2 separate regions of the Homo sapiens genome follow, and region 2 is linked to region 1. Evidence: promoter capture Hi-C in 16 types of primary human blood cells and fetal thymus (Javierre and others, 2016). All regions are on one chromosome and are shown on one strand. Each heading gives the region's core, a stretch centred on a gene start or on the middle of the fragment in contact. The rest is flanking DNA. Distances are from core to core; before and after follow the strand shown. Region 1 holds the start of TOPBP1 (DNA topoisomerase II binding protein 1). Region 2 overlaps MRPS22 (mitochondrial ribosomal protein S22).

Region 1 (3,082 bases), core at 23-2,522:
TTTATAGCCAAGGAACAAAAAGCTTGGGGTCACTGGATAAAAAATTACTAAGAAGGAACTTCAGGAGTAAAGGGGTTTCTTGCTGAAAATAGGTCAAGGTGATCAGACATCACCTTGGATGGTAGAGGATGAGGAACCTGATCAGATATTGAGGGTAGAGGGTTCTAACTGGATTTTCCAAGGAAATGCACAGATAAACCTACGAGAAGGTTGAGGAGTCTGACTAAAGTTTGGCCAAGCAAAGAATCTTTGTCACCTTCCATCGGTGTATTCAAAAACTTAAGACTCAAGCTGCTCATTACTATCTTTAGGCTCTAAAAAGAAAAGAAAAACAAAAACAATCAAGGGACATGGCATTATACTTTTACATTAGTAAATCCAAAGTCATTTTCTCAATCTCAGCAGTGAATAATAAAATGATCCTCATTAGTATAGTGGCTAGATTTTATAAAATAAGAAAAAATTTTTTTAAAAAAGAATAAAATGAAAAGAAGCAACAACGAATCAGTTTTCCGCTGGTTATCACTAAGGTTTGCAGGCCCATCTTATCCCCTCTCCCTTTGCTCTCTGCCATCTGAATCTTAGGTTCAGTCCCAGAATCTCCCCAGTACTGAGGCAGATGCAGAGAAAGAGAACGGCGATGTCCACTGAAGGGGAGGAGGAGGGGAGACCATTGAAGATCTTGACAAAGATCCCTTTGCATTAGCTGTGTAATAAGTCATCCTTTCTTCCCTTGCCATCTTGTGGCTGTGTTAGGCGGTGATTCTATTCCTGCTGTGTTGGAGGGAAACCACCCAGTCCGTAGTCAGAAGACCTGGATGCAGTATTAATTCTACCACCTACTAGCCGTGTGCCCTTGAACCCATCATTTAACTTCCTCCGTTTTTACATCTACAAAATGGAACTACCACTATTTGCCTCACGGAATTGTTTTGGATAATACCTTTTCCCGTGCATGCCTGGTATAAGACAGGTGTAAAATAAATATCTATTGAGGAAATCCTTTCTTTCCCTGGCTTTTTTAACAGTAAAGGAGTATTCCTGGCCTGTGGTCCTACCTCTTGAACCGACGGCGCTGGGCCTACTCGCAGCGGAGACTAGGCCCGCCCAGCAAAGCCCTAAACCCAAAGGGTCCGGCCCAAGCTTTCCCTGAAGCCCCACCGCCCACAGACTGCTCACCTCCACGTTTGACATTTCCGCTCTTCTGCTGCAGCTGCCGATGGCGTCACTTCCACCGGAAAAGGCAAGCGCGGCCGCGCGGTTGGCGCGAAAGTCGGTTCCCGTTCTGGGCAATTTCCGGGTTCTCCAGCGTTTGCTTTGGGGTAGGGGCGGCGCCGAGTCGGGGGAGGGGGCTGTGCGCCGGGCTGGCGCCCGACCCCAGCCACCGCCCTGCGGCCAGCGCGTCCCCCGACTCGCCGCCCGGAGACCCCGAGGCTCCAACGAGGTAAGTGAGGCGCGGAGTGGGGACACAGCTCCTCCCCAGCCCCAACTGGGGTTCGCGATGCCTTCTGTGGCCTTCAGGACCCTCTTTTCCTGTCCTGGTAACTGGCCCTGGAGCCGGCGGGTGGGCCTTTGACGCCGAGAGGACGTGGCTTCCGTGATCCCAGAGCCAGGCCTTTTCCTGGAGATGGGAACCGGAGCATCTAGCCTTATGCAGGGCCAAGACCATGCTAACTGGCTTCCATGTTTATATTTAAAATCTGTTTACTGAGGGATGAACGTACCTCGCAGGCCGTGGGTATCCGCAGGGACAGATACACTCTGTGTATCCTTAAAACAAGTGCAATTGAATGTCCATTGGCCTAAAGGGCTTAGAGCCTTCATAGCAGGGCCTTCCTCAGTGTATTCAATTCGGGTTAATTTTGCTGTCTGATTTGCAAGGATTGGTGTTGTCATCTTTTACCTTGGCTTTGTCCAAGTTCCAGGATTTCTTAGAAATGCCGTTGACGAATTCACGGGCAGAGCCAGAATGTCTGTCTTTAGGCATTCTTGTCTGCACAGAAAAATAGGTAGGTTAAACATGCAACTTTTTATCTAATGTGGTTTTGTTCTTGTTAATGGTTCCTTTATTTTGACAGTTCAGAAATGTCCAGAAATGACAAAGAACCGTTTTTTGTGAAGTTTTTAAAGTCTTCAGACAATTCCAAATGTTTTTTTAAAGCTCTCGAGGTAAGAGTTGAAAACATCTTAATACCGTGAATTCATTTTCTTGTTTTTAAGTGTTTTTGATTTGTTGGGCTTTATGTCTTAGAAGTAGATATTTCACTTTCATAATAATTTTATAGTCTACATTAATACAGATATATCATTATCACATATTTTTGAATTGATCTAAGTACATCATTATGTATTTCGGGGGGCTGGAAGTCTATTATCACATTGCTGTTTAATATGGCTGACCTACAGTTCTTGGAAATTAAGTTGCTTTCATTTGTCTCCTAGCCAGAGTGGTCCTTTGCGTGCTGTAGAAATTTGAGTCAGTTGTGTACTGGTCATACTTGAAAATTTTTTGGTTAATTGTTAAAAATTATGTTTTATTATGTACAGTATAATAATTGGATGATAGTAGGGGTGATGTAGATCCTTGCTTCTCACAGAACCCAGCAGTATCAGCATGGCCTGGAAGTTTCTTCGAAATGCAGAATCTTGGCCTCCAACCCAGACTTAGAATCTGCATTTCTAACAAGATCTTCAGTGTGCATTAAAGTTTGAGAAGCATTTGTAGCAGATTTTTTTAAACTTCATTCATTCAGCAAGTATTTATTGAAGTGTTCATGATTTGATAGGCACTTCTCTAGTACTTGGGATTTATCAGTGATGAGAACAGGCAAAGATTTCTGTTCTTTCAGAGCTTACATTCTAGCAGGAGGACATAGACACTAATCAGACATGATAAATTAGGAAGAGAAAAAAGCAAAACACGTTAAGGGGTTCCAGAGGATGTTTCTTGGGGTGGGAAGAGAAGGGGGTTATAATCTTAAATAGGGTGTGATCAGGGTAGGCTTTATGAAGAAAAAGATATTGAGTAAACGTGAAGGAGGTGAGATAGCCTTGCAGATATCTGGAGAAGAATGTTGCAGGC
Region 2 (3,102 bases), core at 603-3,102, 5.7 Mb before region 1:
TGAAGGTTCTGATGGGGGCATTCCTCTGTTCAAAAGGCTTTCAAAGGTCTGCTGACTGAATTCCAGATTCCTCAGCCTAGCATCTGAGGTCACCTATGATGTGGCTACATCCACCTTCCTAACTTAATCTTTAATCACTCCCCTACATATACATGGCATATATAAGCAAACCAGATCACTGGCCGTTTCTCAAGCCTCCTTTTTTCCTGCCTGTTGCTTATACTGTTCTCTCTACCTGAAACACCTCACCCAGCTCCACCTGCCACAACATTTCCTGCACTTCTAGAACCCTCCTTTACACCCCTATGAAGGCTTTCTTCAAAGAATTTGTAATCTTCTCTTAGTGTCTAGCATTTTAGGCCTGAGGAGATAATTATTTGTATACTTACTAGCACCTTTCCCCACAGCCATATCCGGACTGCTGGCTTTGGCACAGCATACTCTATCCTAGTTCGTGGCATCACCTATACTACCCAAGATAATACCTTACACATAGAAGGTACTAATGAATACTTACTGAGCTGTAAGACAAACACACTGTACTTCAGCAAAATTTTAGTAAATAATTTGATTCCTATACGGTAAACTGAAAAGAGAATAGGCTTTGTCATCAAACTTGGGTCCTAACCCTACCACTTAGTAGCTATGCAACTTTCAGCAAGCTACTTAATTCTACAAGCTTAAATTCCCTCATCTTTAATCAAGGGTTGTTGTGATTATAAAATATATATCTGGCACACAACTGTACTCAATAGATTTTCAGGTATTTCTCTTCCCTTTCCCCTGTATCAAAACTTACAACGAAATTCATTGAGCTAGATTAAAAATCTTACTCATAACCATACTTAAGCCTATATTTTAGAAACTAAAATCTACTCACCTTGATATACTCTGTGGAATCTGGCTCAAACTGGGCAAAGCAGAGATTGAGGACATCAACATGCCTGTCCTGGCTATACATAGTCTAAAACCACACAGCAGAGTTAGCATCACATGAGAACACTGAAGTTCAGCACCTGTCCTGATGTCATGACAGGCCTGCCCACCCACATACTGGCCACTCTGTGCTCCTCAAGAAGCATAAAGAAAGAACACAGGCTTTGTAATTGTCACACCTAGATTCAAATTCCAGCTAAGCCAATTATGAGAGAACCCTAGTACAACCCATCTTGGGTGGTAAGGAGGATTCTATTAAGAAAGAAGTCGGCCAGGCATGGTGGCTCACGCCTGTAATCCCAGCACTTTGGGAGTCGGATTGCGGGGGGGGGGTGCGAATCCCGAGGTCAGGAGTTCAAGACCAGCCTGGCCAACATGGTGAAACCCCATCTCTACTAAAAATACAAAAATTAGCCAAGCGTGGTGGCGGGCGCCTGTAATCCCAGCTACTCATGAGGCTGAGGCAGAAGAATCACTTGAAACCAGAAGGTGGAGGTTGCAGTGAGCTGAGATCCCGCCACTGCACTTCAGCCTGGGCAAAAGGAGCGAAACTCCATTTCAAAAAAAAAAAAAAGTCAAGTTATCATTAGAAATGTTTATCTGGATCAAGGCACAAAGCCAACTGGTTCTACAAATAAATCATCACCACTGGCTCTAAAACATAAAACCTAAGTCACCTTACCCTAAGATTTTCTTCCTTGAAAATTATTGGTGTCAAAATTTTACGACCTTCTTTTGGGAAATAAACTTGTATCATTCGGTCCCGTTCTTCCCAAGAGGCTTTGCGTAGTGTGCCACTTGGTTCTCTGACGACAATAAAACGCTCCTAAAATAGAAAAACATAATCAAGGATGCGTTTGTGAGGACGTATTTTTAGTTCCTGTGTCCCACTAAGGCCATTATAAGAATAATTTGCAATCAACAATATAAAATGCAATCATGCATATGAGATCAATGATAATTTTAAACCTCAAAGACTTGGCAAGGTTTGATATTTCCTTCACTAATCACTGCTGTGCATCTGACAATCAGAAATCTAAAATGAAAGTATTCAGTAAGTACCAACTATGGTGCTAACGTGAGTTCGATACGAAAAAAGCTGAGATTCATCTATATCCATTTTAGAGGAAAGAAGTGCTATGACCTTTCCAAACTTTCATTTCTCTATCCCAAAGTCTCATCTAAACAGATTTTACTACTTTATGATCTATGTTTAAAGTCCTTGGGATAAAAAGAACAAACCCAAGAATGAGGAGTCTTACTTCTACACTTTTATGATTTCTTATATTGGCATTAGACATAAACATGTCTGAGAGGCTGTCTGGTCCAACTGTCTCTGGTCACTTCGATCTTCCAACTGCCAACTCCCAGGCCATGGGATCACTTCCTCCTCTAAATTCTACCTACTTTTTATACCATTCAACTGGAAATTTACCCCACACAAGATTTTTGGCATCCCTCAGATATTGTTATATAACTGGAAAAGGGCAGGAAATGTGGATTATAATTTTTTGCAATACCGGGAGTGGCATACATGGAGCTTTGCACATTGCTGATAATTGATACACACCTGATTAATGTATAAATTAACCAAACAGTACTGACTCTCAAGTTTTCAGAGGTGTAGGAGTCTCTAAATGTGTTCTGAAGATAACATAGATGAAACTTCCATCAACACTGCCAATCGAAAAAAAAAAAGCACATGCCAACATAATACAATTTTTCCTCAGAAGGATTTTGGTAATTTGAGAAACCTGAATTCCAAGTTCCTTTCTCCTTTTCAAGTTACAAAATGCTTCCCAACCAACATGCACAGCACTGCAAACATATATTAAAGCATCACAAAACAAAAACTGTAATTAAAATTGAAACTCTGTGACTCATGTTCATTATGTCAAATATACAGATGGCTGGTGTTGAACATAGCTCAAATCGTTTTCTAACCATAATCATGTATAATAAAAGATTAATATGGAGTGAACCTTCTCCTAAACTCAGCATTCTATAGTGTTCTAACGTATTCTGTGGGCTGAATTGTAAACTATTCTCTTTTTATTCTTTACTTGCAAAGGCTCAAATACAAAGCTTACATATTTCTAAAATGCCAGAGTGTTCTTTTAAATTTGCAATCAAGTAAAGAGGAGCCAGAGAATAACAATCACAACA

The links. Contacts are between HindIII fragments. The CHiCAGO score rates a contact against its expected background, and 5 or more counts as called.
Region 2: a contact is called between a fragment that was not itself captured here and the fragment with the promoter of TOPBP1 in region 1, in 1 of 17 cell types (total CD8 T cells). The highest score is 5.2, in total CD8 T cells.

The regions. Positions count from the first base shown.
Region 1 is chr3:133,660,131-133,663,212 of GRCh38, reverse strand. It overlaps TOPBP1 (DNA topoisomerase II binding protein 1), which reads left to right and starts at 1,272. Exons shown (of 28, transcript NM_007027.4): 1 at 1,272-1,444; 2 at 2,079-2,169. The coding sequence starts at 2,086. It overlaps LOC124909487, which reads right to left and starts at 1,987. Exons shown (of 3, transcript XM_047449438.1): 1 at 1,867-1,987; 2 at 1,180-1,700; 3 at 1-314. The coding sequence starts at 1,987. The coding sequence ends at 165. It also overlaps a transcript of TF not described here. RefSeq lists an enhancer at 846-915 and a silencer at 1,316-1,485. The HindIII fragment of the contact is 9,162 bases long and covers 1,146-3,082 here.
Region 2 is chr3:139,348,839-139,351,940 of GRCh38, reverse strand. It overlaps MRPS22 (mitochondrial ribosomal protein S22), which reads right to left. Exons shown (of 8, transcript NM_020191.4): 4 at 1,619-1,762; 5 at 881-964. Among named protein-coding and RNA genes, the nearest start is that of MRPS22, 6.4 kb to the right of the region's middle. The HindIII fragment of the contact is 2,342 bases long and covers 682-3,023 here.